Linked DNA regions of Homo sapiens: region 2 is linked to region 1. The links are contacts of gene promoters, found by promoter capture Hi-C in blood cells and fetal thymus (Javierre and others, 2016). All regions are on one chromosome and are shown on one strand. The core of a region is centred on a gene start or on the middle of the fragment in contact, and the rest is flanking DNA. Distances in the headings are between cores, read along the strand shown.

Region 1 (6,235 bases), core at 2,242-4,741:
ATTTATTTATTTATTTATTTATTTATTTATTTATTTGAGGCAGGGTCTCGCTCTGTCACCCAGGCTGTAGTGCAGTGGCACAATACAGCCTCAAACTTCTGGGCTCAAGTGATCCTCCCGCCTCAGCCTTTAAAGTATCTGGGACTGCAGCTGCACACCCTCATGCCTGGCTAATGTCTTTAATTTCCTTGTGGTAGTCAGACTTTCCATAGATGGATCTCCCAATTCCTGTCTTAAGGATTCTGTCGTTGGAGCCACTGTCATATACTCATATAAGAAAAGAAGAGAAGTGGGCGAGGGTCCCAGCATCCAGTTTGCTGTATTCAATTAATCCTCACGTTTCCTGTATACTCCCATGCTCAACTGTGTATCATATCTTCTCAGTCTAGACAGACACTCTTTGTTTTACCCTTTCCAGAGAATAAATCCCCAAAGCCTGCTGGTGTGGTGAGATGTACACACTTGGTTGCAAGAAGTTGAGAAAAGGATCTGGGGATTTGGCCTGTTCTGAACCAGCATTTCAAGCAATCCTCCTTGTTTCAACCATACTCTCACACTTTATGGAGGTACCTGGTGCTGCTAATCCTGAGCATTTGGGGATTCTGTATTGCAAACTGGGCTGCTCAATGGCTTTTCTCATTGCTGGTTTAGAATTCAGCTTCCTTGAAGTTGCAAAATCCTTTCCCACTTGTCCATTTGCCTTTCCAAAATTTTACTAATTTTGTCTCTCCTGTCCTGGCTATCCTAGTACTTTATGCCTTAAAAAAAAATTCTGTTATTTTCAGGAGACAGCAAAAACAGATTAAAGTAGATACTGAACCATAGTTCAATATCCTATCTCTACTCCACACATTTGTATTTTCAAATAATTTTCTACAGCTTCTTTTTTTGCATGGGAAATGCACACTAAGGAAACTGAAAAAAGACATGTACAATGTAAACTAACAATAAAATTCAAAGCCTCTCAACTGACTGAAGGCACACTTTCTTTCCTTTTCTTTCTTTCTTTTTTTTTTTTTTGAGATGGAGTTTCGCTCTTGTTGCCCAGGCTGGAGTGCAGTGGTGCGATCTTGGCTCACTACACACTTTCTTGGCTAACGGGACCCCAGAGTAACCTTGAAAACTGAGTTCTGGGCCAAGAGTAGATAGAGCGTCAGATACAACTCTATACCTCCTCTCTTGCTAACCACAATTAGGCTTTGTTCTATAAGGACTTAAGGGAAACCAGCCCTTTCAAAAGATTCTACCACTGATATCAACCAACCCCCTGATGCTGCCCCTCCTTTTGTGCCTGATAAGAGATCACAGACCACAGAATGGTTCTGGCCAGTCTACTGAGAATGCACAGTAAGGGTTTTTCTGTCCTCTGCTTCACCTTTTGATATAAGAGGGCCAAAAACTCCATCCTGTGATTGTGGTAACACCGCCATTTTTTGTGCATGGTACCCATGAAGCTCAATTACTCATGGGTACTTTCCTCCTTTCATAAATATTCATGAGTCATCCTACAGCTTACTGAATATGTATATTTGGCCACCTTCCTCAGCATAAATTCCTGTTCCCTTTGCCCCTCCCTGGAAGTGTCAGTTTCTGGCTTCTGGCCTGCGGCTACACTTCTCAGCCAGTCAGAATGGCTGCTCTACAGTCTGAAACCATTCATGAGAAAGAGTTCTCCTTTCTAAATTATGAACTTCTCATTCTTCAGCTGACAGACCATAACTGCAGATCCATCTGAATGTATGAGGAAAATGCCTTTCCTTTCAATGTCAACTCTGCAATATTAAGGACAATATAACACCATTATTCTAACATTCCCTTTAAATCATTAGTGAAACTAGTTTGGATTATACTAGCATGCTATTATTGGTGGTTCTAATTTAATGATTAATCTGTGAAATAGCAAACATTGCATAAAAGCATGTATTTCAGGCAAATTTCCCCTTTTGTTGCCAAATTTGGCCTCAGTATGCTTAGGATATAGGGAGGAGGCATTTCTCTCATTACCTGGGAACATGAATTCACTTCTTAGCAAATATTTGTTGACAAATGGCTTCTGCAAGACCCTGATGGTATCAGGAGGTGACTCTGAGTTTTCTGAGAGGTCAGTAGAAAGTATCTGATTTATATTGGGTACAGAAAAGCAAAAGAATGTTGCAGTTTTCTCATTTTCATTCAGAAACTCTGGAACCTAAATTCAAGGCTTCATAAAGCAGTTCTCTACTTAAAAGAGAAGCATAATCTTTATCAGAGTTCCACAGCAGCCTGGAGTAGCACAACTCTATTCCTTTCACACAAACTTGAACTGTCTAACAAAATCATGCACATAACTTAATCATGTCTTAGTTGTTTGTTTTTGAGACAGGGTCTCTCTCTATCCCCCAGGCTGGAGTGCAGTGGTGTAATGACACTTCCGTCTCCAACACTGGGGCTCAAGCGATCCTCTCACTTCAACCTCCTGAGTACCTGGGACTATAAGGGTGCACCACCATGCCTGGCTAATTTTTAAATATTTTGTAGAGACAGGGTCTTGCTATGTTACCCAGGCTGGTCTCAAACTCCTGGGCTCAACGTCTTAGCTGTTCTAACAGTTTCTCAGCATGGACTCCACTTGTATACATCATTTCTAGAGAAATAAAGTTTATTTCTATAATACAAAAAAAGTGCACATTACAAGAATTAAGGAAGGGAAATTTCACAAAAATTTCTGCCCACAAACAAAGTCCTCAAGTTGTTCTAGTCTCCATTCTCACCTTTTCAAAAGCTTCTGCTATAGTTTTGTTTTTAAATTTCATAAAATTGAGAAGAAACTTTCCTAAGGTGCACACATCTTAAAAGAGTATGACTCGGTGAATTTTTTACATATACATACACCTGTGTAACCACCGCAGAGCAAGACAGAATATTTACAGCACCCCAGTTTCCCACATCACCAGGGATCACTCACTATTTGGCAGTACTTATTTTTTCCCAAAAATCACTAATACACCAGGCTGGGGAAAAAACCGAGAGTCCGTTTCTATAAAAAAAAATTTGAAAAATTAGCCAAGCGTGGTGCAGCGAGCCTGTAGTCCCAGTTACCGAGGAGGCTGGGGCGGGAAGATCACTTGAGCCCAGGAGTTCCAGGTTACAGTGAGCTATGATTGTGCCACTGCACGCTAGCATGGGCGACAGAGGGAGACCCTGTCTCTAAAAGAAAAAAGAAAAAAAAATAATTAAAACACACCAGTGCTTTGGAAGCACTTTAAATCCTGGACATTGGATTCAGGTCATTTACTGTCCGACCTCGTTATTCCCAGTTTCCGCTTCTGCCCTGAACCCCACTTCACAGGGCTGATTGCTAGGCTGTCTACGCTTGTAAGAATTCCTGGGAGCCCTAGCACGGGCGCATACACTCCTAGCAAATCGTTCCCTTTCTCACCCGCACCCTCCGCGCCCGAGTGAGCCTACCTCGCTTACAGCTGGTTGCCGGCCATTGCCTCCGCCACCAATGACGTCCCCAGGGGCGGGTACGCCTCCGCTTCCACCTCCGCCACTTCTCCGCGCCCCGCCTCCGCCCGCGCCCCGCCTCCGCCCGCGCCCCGCCTCCGCCCGCGCCCCGCCTCTTTCCCGCGCCCCGCCTCTTTCCCGCGCCCCGCCTCAGTTCCCGCCCCCTCTCCCGGCGCCCCGTCTCCACTCCCGCCCCGTACCTCGTTGCACAGACTCCACCCACTTCCCCAAGCGCCGGGGTTTGCGCAGCGGCGGAAATGGGCAGGGCGGAGCGAGCGCTGCGGCTAAAGCGAAGGCGGGGACCCTACCCATCCCTAGTCCTGTCGGCTCCTCCCACCCCGGGTCACGCCGTGACAGGGGCGGAAGCGGCGGCGGCGGCGGCGGCCGAGAAGAGGCTGGGGCTCGCGGCGCGGCTGCAGCCGTCCTGTGCGCGCGGCGCGCGGCTCCGGAGAGGCGCCCGCAGTCCAGGGCGGCGCGCACCGCCTCGCTGGCGCTCAGAGGTGGGAGGCTCCCCACTCCGGGGGCGTGCGTGGGGGCCGTGGCGGATTTCGGGTGACAGCGTTGCACAAAGCAGCTTGGTTGGGGTGCAAGCCCTCCCTTTCCCCCTGTGCAGCGCCCCTCGCCGTGGTGGGAGGTGGGCGGGTGCCCCAGGGACGGATACCTCCTGCCCCGGATTAAAAGAGGGTGCGGGGTGGGTATCTGTCTGAAGAAGGGGGAATTCCCGGGCTAGGGTGTTGGGGCGTGGGGTCGCCGGGTTCGTCGCGATGTTGCCGGTCGGCTAACCCCCCTACAATGTTTCCTTTCTGTACAGCGGTGCCTTTTCCCCGAGACTCCCGGCACCTCTTCAGCGCAAAGGTGAGCCCCGGGGCAGTTGCTTCTCCGACTTCGAAAAGCTTCCGAAAGCTTCTCGGAAAGCGAGGCGGCTGCAGCTGGCACCGGGAGTTTGGGGCTCCCTCCTGGGGACTGTCAGAGCCGCGGGAGAACCCCACGGTCCTGGAGTAGGAACTCCCTCGCTTGTTCTTCCCGGCCGATAGGGTGCGGCCAGGAGCCCGCACAGCCTTGCAGGTGTTGTAGTAATTCTCTGGCACAGCCACCACGCGTTGAGACTTGATGAGCATTGCCAGGTTGCTGGGGTAACTCCTCTGGGATTGGAGACCTGGAGGAGGGGTGGCCCGATTAGGGTAGCTGTTAGTCAACGGCCGGGCAGCTGACAGGTGAAAGAGGAAGGAAGAGGCCGACCCAGCTGTAGAAAGTTGGGGTTCAGTGATGTGGAAACCAGCCACATAGAAGTCCAGTCTTCCCTTGGGTAAGCCTGCAGGACTCCCCAGTCCACTCCAGTTGGGGAATCCCCCACACCACGTATACACACATAACTCAAGGCTTTGACCAGTTTTGTTTTGTGTTTTTAAATCTATTTTAGTGGCAGAAAGGCGAGTGGGAGAGAAGGCTTCTTCAGGAGGTACATGAGAAAATTACCATCAATAATTATTTGCCTTGCTGGGAGAATCAACAAAAGATATCTAGGCAATTGGGGATTTAATATTGAATCATTGAACTGCATGTTGAATATTGAATAATTCAATATTGAATTATTCAATATTGGGAGGCCGAGGTGGGCGATCACTTGAGGTCAGGAGTACTTCAAGACCAGCCTGGCCAAGGTGGTGAAACCTGGTCTCTACTAAAAATACAAAAATTAGCCGGACGTGGTGGCACACACCTGTAATCCCAGCTACTCGGGAGGCTGAGGCAGAAGAATCGCTTGAACCCAGGAGGTGGATGTTGTAGTGAGCCGAGATCGCACCACTGTACTCCAGCCTGAGCCACGGAGGAAGACTCCGTCTCAAAAAAAAGAAAAAATCTTTTTGAATAAGCTGCTTCAGAAAAACCTAGGGATTATTATAATGAAATCTACATATTGATATATCCACTTATATATTTACCAAAAAATCCCACTTTTTTATCACATTAAAAGAAAACCAAAGCCAAATTTTAAATGCTTGAATTAAAAATTAGAAATATATGTATAATGTTGAGCATGAAACCAATTGGTTATATTTAGGTGTGTTTATTAATTTGAAAAATCAAGAAGGAAGACATTTTAGTATACTAAAAATTTTTTCTTCATTTTAAGACCTAAGGACCCAGCAAGTGGAGATATATAAATTACATCAAGTGCCAAAAGTTCTGAGAATGGATTCATATAACCCTCAATTGTATAAAGTTGAAAATATGCTATCATAAAAACCCTCGATAAGATTTAATAATGGCTTTTATAGCTCATGTTTTCATTTCCTTGTTAACCATTTCTTGAATTCTTTGTTGCATTAAGTACCTATTTTCTAGTATTCAGTTAGATTAAAATGTTTGATGAAATTTCAGGAAACTATACTTTCTTTTGAGAATGCATACCTTCCCAGGTGACAGGGTCAAATGTTGCATGAACCTAGGCTGATTCATTTATGTTCCTAAACCACACATTTGACTTCAGATATTTTTGCTATAATACTTACATATACTATACATTTACAAATACTATATATTTACATATATTTGTGGTTCATGTTATGAATAATGTCAGGTATATTTTATATATAAATGAAGAGATTTGTATATTTATGTATATAATAATTAATATTTATATGTGTCTATGAAGAGATTTGTTAGAGTGGACAGCCTTTTGAAAATAAAGTCCAAAAAGCCTTCTTTGGGTATAACAATTATAGGTAGATAGTCCTTTTTTTTTTTT
Region 2 (6,235 bases), core at 1,018-3,517, 3.4 Mb after region 1:
GGCCTGTTTCGCTGTCGGGTCTCTAGTTCTTGCACGCTCTTTAAGAGTCTGCACTGGAGGAACTCCTGCCATTACCAGCTCCCTTCTTGCAGAAGGGAGGGGGAAACATACATTTATTCATGCCAGTCTGTTGCATGCAGGCTTTTTGGCTTCCTACCTTGCAACAAAATAATTGCACCAACTCCTTAGTGCCGATTCCGCCCACAGAGAGTCCTGGAGCCACAGTCTTTTTTGCTTTGCATTGTAGGAGAGGGACTAAGTGCTAGAGACTATGTCGCTTTCCTGAGCTACCGAGAGCGCTCGTGAACTGGAATCAACTGCTTCAGGGAAAAAGAAAAAAAAAAAAAAAAGACTTGCCTGGGAGGCCGCGAGAAACTTGCATTGGAAGCTTCAGCAACCAGCATTCGAGAAACTCCTCTCTACTTTAGCACGGTCTCCAGACTCAGCCGAGAGACAGCAAACTGCAGCGCGGTGAGAGAGCGAGAGAGAGGGAGAGAGAGACTCTCCAGCCTGGGAACTATAACTCCTCTGCGAGAGGCGGAGAACTCCTTCCCCAAATCTTTTGGGGACTTTTCTCTCTTTACCCACCTCCGCCCCTGCGAGGAGTTGAGGGGCCAGTTCGGCCGCCGCGCGCGTCTTCCCGTTCGGCGTGTGCTTGGCCCGGGGAACCGGGAGGGCCCGGCGATCGCGCGGCGGCCGCCGCGAGGGTGTGAGCGCGCGTGGGCGCCCGCCGAGCCGAGGCCATGGTGCAGCAAACCAACAATGCCGAGAACACGGAAGCGCTGCTGGCCGGCGAGAGCTCGGACTCGGGCGCCGGCCTCGAGCTGGGAATCGCCTCCTCCCCCACGCCCGGCTCCACCGCCTCCACGGGCGGCAAGGCCGACGACCCGAGCTGGTGCAAGACCCCGAGTGGGCACATCAAGCGACCCATGAACGCCTTCATGGTGTGGTCGCAGATCGAGCGGCGCAAGATCATGGAGCAGTCGCCCGACATGCACAACGCCGAGATCTCCAAGCGGCTGGGCAAACGCTGGAAGCTGCTCAAAGACAGCGACAAGATCCCTTTCATTCGAGAGGCGGAGCGGCTGCGCCTCAAGCACATGGCTGACTACCCCGACTACAAGTACCGGCCCAGGAAGAAGGTGAAGTCCGGCAACGCCAACTCCAGCTCCTCGGCCGCCGCCTCCTCCAAGCCGGGGGAGAAGGGAGACAAGGTCGGTGGCAGTGGCGGGGGCGGCCATGGGGGCGGCGGCGGCGGCGGGAGCAGCAACGCGGGGGGAGGAGGCGGCGGTGCGAGTGGCGGCGGCGCCAACTCCAAACCGGCGCAGAAAAAGAGCTGCGGCTCCAAAGTGGCGGGCGGCGCGGGCGGTGGGGTTAGCAAACCGCACGCCAAGCTCATCCTGGCAGGCGGCGGCGGCGGCGGGAAAGCAGCGGCTGCCGCCGCCGCCTCCTTCGCCGCCGAACAGGCGGGGGCCGCCGCCCTGCTGCCCCTGGGCGCCGCCGCCGACCACCACTCGCTGTACAAGGCGCGGACTCCCAGCGCCTCGGCCTCCGCCTCCTCGGCAGCCTCGGCCTCCGCAGCGCTCGCGGCCCCGGGCAAGCACCTGGCGGAGAAGAAGGTGAAGCGCGTCTACCTGTTCGGCGGCCTGGGCACGTCGTCGTCGCCCGTGGGCGGCGTGGGCGCGGGAGCCGACCCCAGCGACCCCCTGGGCCTGTACGAGGAGGAGGGCGCGGGCTGCTCGCCCGACGCGCCCAGCCTGAGCGGCCGCAGCAGCGCCGCCTCGTCCCCCGCCGCCGGCCGCTCGCCCGCCGACCACCGCGGCTACGCCAGCCTGCGCGCCGCCTCGCCCGCCCCGTCCAGCGCGCCCTCGCACGCGTCCTCCTCGGCCTCGTCCCACTCCTCCTCTTCCTCCTCCTCGGGCTCCTCGTCCTCCGACGACGAGTTCGAAGACGACCTGCTCGACCTGAACCCCAGCTCAAACTTTGAGAGCATGTCCCTGGGCAGCTTCAGTTCGTCGTCGGCGCTCGACCGGGACCTGGATTTTAACTTCGAGCCCGGCTCCGGCTCGCACTTCGAGTTCCCGGACTACTGCACGCCCGAGGTGAGCGAGATGATCTCGGGAGACTGGCTCGAGTCCAGCATCTCCAACCTGGTTTTCACCTACTGAAGGGCGCGCAGGCAGGGAGAAGGGCCGGGGGGGGTAGGAGAGGAGAAAAAAAAAGTGAAAAAAAGAAACGAAAAGGACAGACGAAGAGTTTAAAGAGAAAAGGGAAAAAAGAAAGAAAAAGTAAGCAGGGCTGGCTTCGCCCGCGTTCTCGTCGTCGGATCAAGGAGCGCGGCGGCGTTTTGGACCCGCGCTCCCATCCCCCACCTTCCCGGGCCGGGGACCCACTCTGCCCAGCCGGAGGGACGCGGAGGAGGAAGAGGGTAGACAGGGGCGACCTGTGATTGTTGTTATTGATGTTGTTGTTGATGGCAAAAAAAAAAAAGCGACTTCGAGTTTGCTCCCCTTTGCTTGAAGAGACCCCCTCCCCCTTCCAACGAGCTTCCGGACTTGTCTGCACCCCCAGCAAGAAGGCGAGTTAGTTTTCTAGAGACTTGAAGGAGTCTCCCCCTTCCTGCATCACCACCTTGGTTTTGTTTTATTTTGCTTCTTGGTCAAGAAAGGAGGGGAGAACCCAGCGCACCCCTCCCCCCCTTTTTTTAAACGCGTGATGAAGACAGAAGGCTCCGGGGTGACGAATTTGGCCGATGGCAGATGTTTTGGGGGAACGCCGGGACTGAGAGACTCCACGCAGGCGAATTCCCGTTTGGGGCTTTTTTTTCCTCCCTCTTTTCCCCTTGCCCCCTCTGCAGCCGGAGGAGGAGATGTTGAGGGGAGGAGGCCAGCCAGTGTGACCGGCGCTAGGAAATGACCCGAGAACCCCGTTGGAAGCGCAGCAGCGGGAGCTAGGGGCGGGGGCGGAGGAGGACACGAACTGGAAGGGGGTTCACGGTCAAACTGAAATGGATTTGCACGTTGGGGAGCTGGCGGCGGCGGCTGCTGGGCCTCCGCCTTCTTTTCTACGTGAAATCAGTGAGGTGAGACTTCCCAGACCCCGGAGGCGTGGAGGAGAGGAGACTGTTTGATGTGGTACAGGGGCAGTCAGTGGAGGGCGAGTGGTTTCGGAAAAAAAAAAAGAAAAAAAGAAAAAAAAAGAAAAAAAAAAGATTTTTTTCTTCTCTTAATCGGAATCGTGATGGTGTTGGATTATTTCAATGGTGGGGTTAATATAGCATGTTATCCTGTCTATCTTTTAAAGATTTCTGTATAAGACTGTTGAGCAGTTTTTAAAATAGTGTAGGATAATATAAAAAGCAGATAGATGGCGCTATGTTTGATTCCTACAACGAAATTATCACCAGCTTTTTTTCATTCTTAACTCTTTAAAGGATTCAAACGCAACTCAAATCTGTGCTGGACTTTAAAAAAACAATTCAGGACCAAATTTTTTCTCAGTGTGTGTGTTTATTCCTTATAGGTGTAAATGAGAAGACGTGTTTTTTTCCTTCACCGATGCTCCATCCTCGTATTTCTTTTTCCTTGTAAATGTAATCAGATGCCATTTTATATGTGGACGTATTTATACTGGCCAAACATATTTTTTCTTTTGTCCCTTTTTTTCTTTCCTTTCTTTTTACTTCCTTTATTTCTTTATTCCTTCCTTTTCCTTTTTTTCTTTTTTTTTTCTTTTTTTTTTTTTTTTTTTGGTAGTTGTTGTTACCCACGCCATTTTACGTCTCCTTCACTGAAGGGCTAGAGTTTTAACTTTTAATTTTTTATATTTAAATGTAGACTTTTGACACTTTTAAAAAACAAAAAAAGACAAGAGAGATGAAAACGTTTGATTATTTTCTCAGTGTATTTTTGTAAAAAATATATAAAGGGGGTGTTAATCGGTGTAAATCGCTGTTTGGATTTCCTGATTTTATAACAGGGCGGCTGGTTAATATCTCACACAGTTTAAAAAATCAGCCCCTAATTTCTCCATGTTTACACTTCAATCTGCAGGCTTCTTAAAGTGACAGTATCCCTTAACCTGCCACCAGTGTCCACCCTCCGGCCCCCGTCTTGTAAAAAGGGGAGGAGAATTAGCCAAACACTGTAAGCTTTTAAGAAAAACAAAGTTTTAAACGAAATACTGCTCTGTCCAGAGGCTTTAAAACTGGTGCAATTACAGCAAAAAGGGATTCTGTAGCTTTAACTTGTAAACCACATCTTTTTTGCACTTTTTTTATAAGCAAAAACGTGCCGTTTAAACCACTGGATCTATCTAAATGCCGATTTGAGTTCGCGACACTATGTACTGCGTTTTTCATTCTTGTATTTGACTATTTAATCCTTTCTACTTGTCGCTAAATATAATTGTTTTAGTCTTATGGCATGATGATAGCATATGTGTTCAGGTTTATAGCTGTTGTGTTTAAAAATTGAAAAAAGTGGAAAACATCTTTGTACATTTAAGTCTGTATTATAATAAGCAAAAAGATTGTGTGTATGTATGTTTAATATAACATGACAGGCACTAGGACGTCTGCCTTTTTAAGGCAGTTCCGTTAAGGGTTTTTGTTTTTAAACTTTTTTTTGCCATCCATCCTGTGCAATATGCCGTGTAGAATATTTGTCTTAAAATTCAAGGCCACAAAAACAATGTTTGGGGGAAAAAAAAGAAAAAATCATGCCAGCTAATCATGTCAAGTTCACTGCCTGTCAGATTGTTGATATATACCTTCTGTAAATAACTTTTTTTGAGAAGGAAATAAAATCAGCTGGAACTGAACCCTAAATCTTGACTTTTGTCGTTATTATGCCCAATGCCTAAGATTGGAAAGGCCCTACAGTATCTGGACACTACACAATCTGCCTTAGCTTTAAAAAAATAAGTTCTCAGAGGAGTCTTGTCAAATGCTACCTTATCGAGGAACATTAAATGTCTCTTGGCCAGATTTCCTCTGACCCTGAAAATGATGGCATCAGCTGAATATGTGTCAACTCAACACATGCTTTCTAGGAATTTTCTGAGTTTACCATATTTAAAAACGCCCTTTGTCTTGGAATCTGAAAGAGGGGGAGGGGCAACGTGGACAGAATTCTTCACAGATGAAACTGGCTAGATGATCTTTTTTTCAAGTTGGTGCTCCTGGAGCTGCTTTCTCCTTGATTTGCCCATGCTTACCTCCAGCAGTGGCTGTAATTGGTTTTCGTGGGTTAAGGACAAATAAACTGTTATTATCAGTAGATTATACAGGAGGAGGCTTTTACCGATTATGAAATGCAAAACGTATGCATTTATGCATTTTTTTTCTCAAGCAGAAAGGTTGATGTGCTACAATCTTCATTTTTTGCCATGCCCAACATGGTGTTAATGTAAGAGAACTGCAGCAATAAGGATGACCTGGAGAAGCTGGCTGCATGTGGGCTCAGAGGAAAGCCCCCTCTCCAAATAGCACTTACTTTGGCTGCTGGAGATTTGTGCTTTTTCTAAGAATCAGGAAGGATTGTTGAGACTGCAAGGTGAAAAAGTACTTGGATTTCTTAAGGCCCATTACTCTTGGGTTTGGAACATACAACTTGCTAAGTGGCACTATTTCCTGTTTATTTTGAGAGTTAACAATTGCTATTAACTAACAAAAGCCATCTTCCAAATGTTAATTAAAAATGTGTCTTTTACTTGTCTTGAGTTTTTCAGCACTGGAGAGGAGGGGTTAACAAGCAGAAGTGTTTGGAAATTATCCCTTAGTCATTTGGATTGCTTGTAGATAAGGGAGTAGTATCCTGGAAGGTACATCTGGAAAAAGAGACCTTTTGAAGACTAGTCTAACAGGAGGGGGTTTTGTGGTTGTCCAACGAAAAGCAATAATGCACCCCCAAAAACCAGTATAACTTGTGTTTCAATATAATTTATCTCTTAAAGATAGCTACTAGTTTTCAACATTTTTTTCATGTGTGGTGCTCATATATTTAGTTTTAATTGCATTTGCGTTCTGCAATTGGAATTCCATTTTTTAAAATGACCTTAGAACAACATGGCATCTAAGTTTCTTCAAAGATCTTTGTAAAAGGAAGAACTCTTCTTTAGAAAAGTGCTTTTAATTTTTGTTCATTGCAGTGATAATATAATGGTTTAGCTTTTTTCAGATCCAAGGTATCAATACCATGACATAAATGAAGCCTTAAATGATGCCTTTTTTAAA

Evidence for each region. The method cuts DNA at HindIII sites, captures the fragments that hold promoters and counts their contacts. A CHiCAGO score of 5 or more calls a contact.
Region 2: a fragment that was not itself captured here is called in contact with the fragment with the promoter of TPMT in region 1 in 1 of 17 cell types (naive CD8 T cells); the score reaches 5.4 in naive CD8 T cells.

Annotation. Positions count from the first base shown.
Region 1 is chr6:18,151,586-18,157,820 of GRCh38, forward strand. TPMT (thiopurine S-methyltransferase) reads right to left here and starts at 3,492. Exons shown (of 9, transcript NM_000367.5): 1 at 3,448-3,492. It overlaps KDM1B (lysine demethylase 1B), which reads left to right and starts at 3,837. Exons shown (of 22, transcript NM_001364614.2): 1 at 3,837-3,986; 2 at 4,298-4,341. RefSeq lists a silencer at 3,538-4,097 and an enhancer at 4,538-4,777. The HindIII fragment of the contact is 1,618 bases long and covers 2,760-4,377 here.
Region 2 is chr6:21,593,792-21,600,026 of GRCh38, forward strand. It overlaps SOX4 (SRY-box transcription factor 4), which reads left to right. Exons shown (of 1, transcript NM_003107.3): 1 at 1-4,828. The coding sequence starts at 744. The coding sequence ends at 2,168. Among named protein-coding and RNA genes, the nearest start is that of SOX4, 3.2 kb to the left of the region's middle. RefSeq lists silencers at 571-750, 1,521-1,610, 1,661-1,710 and an enhancer at 2,521-2,720. The HindIII fragment of the contact is 3,762 bases long and covers 387-4,148 here.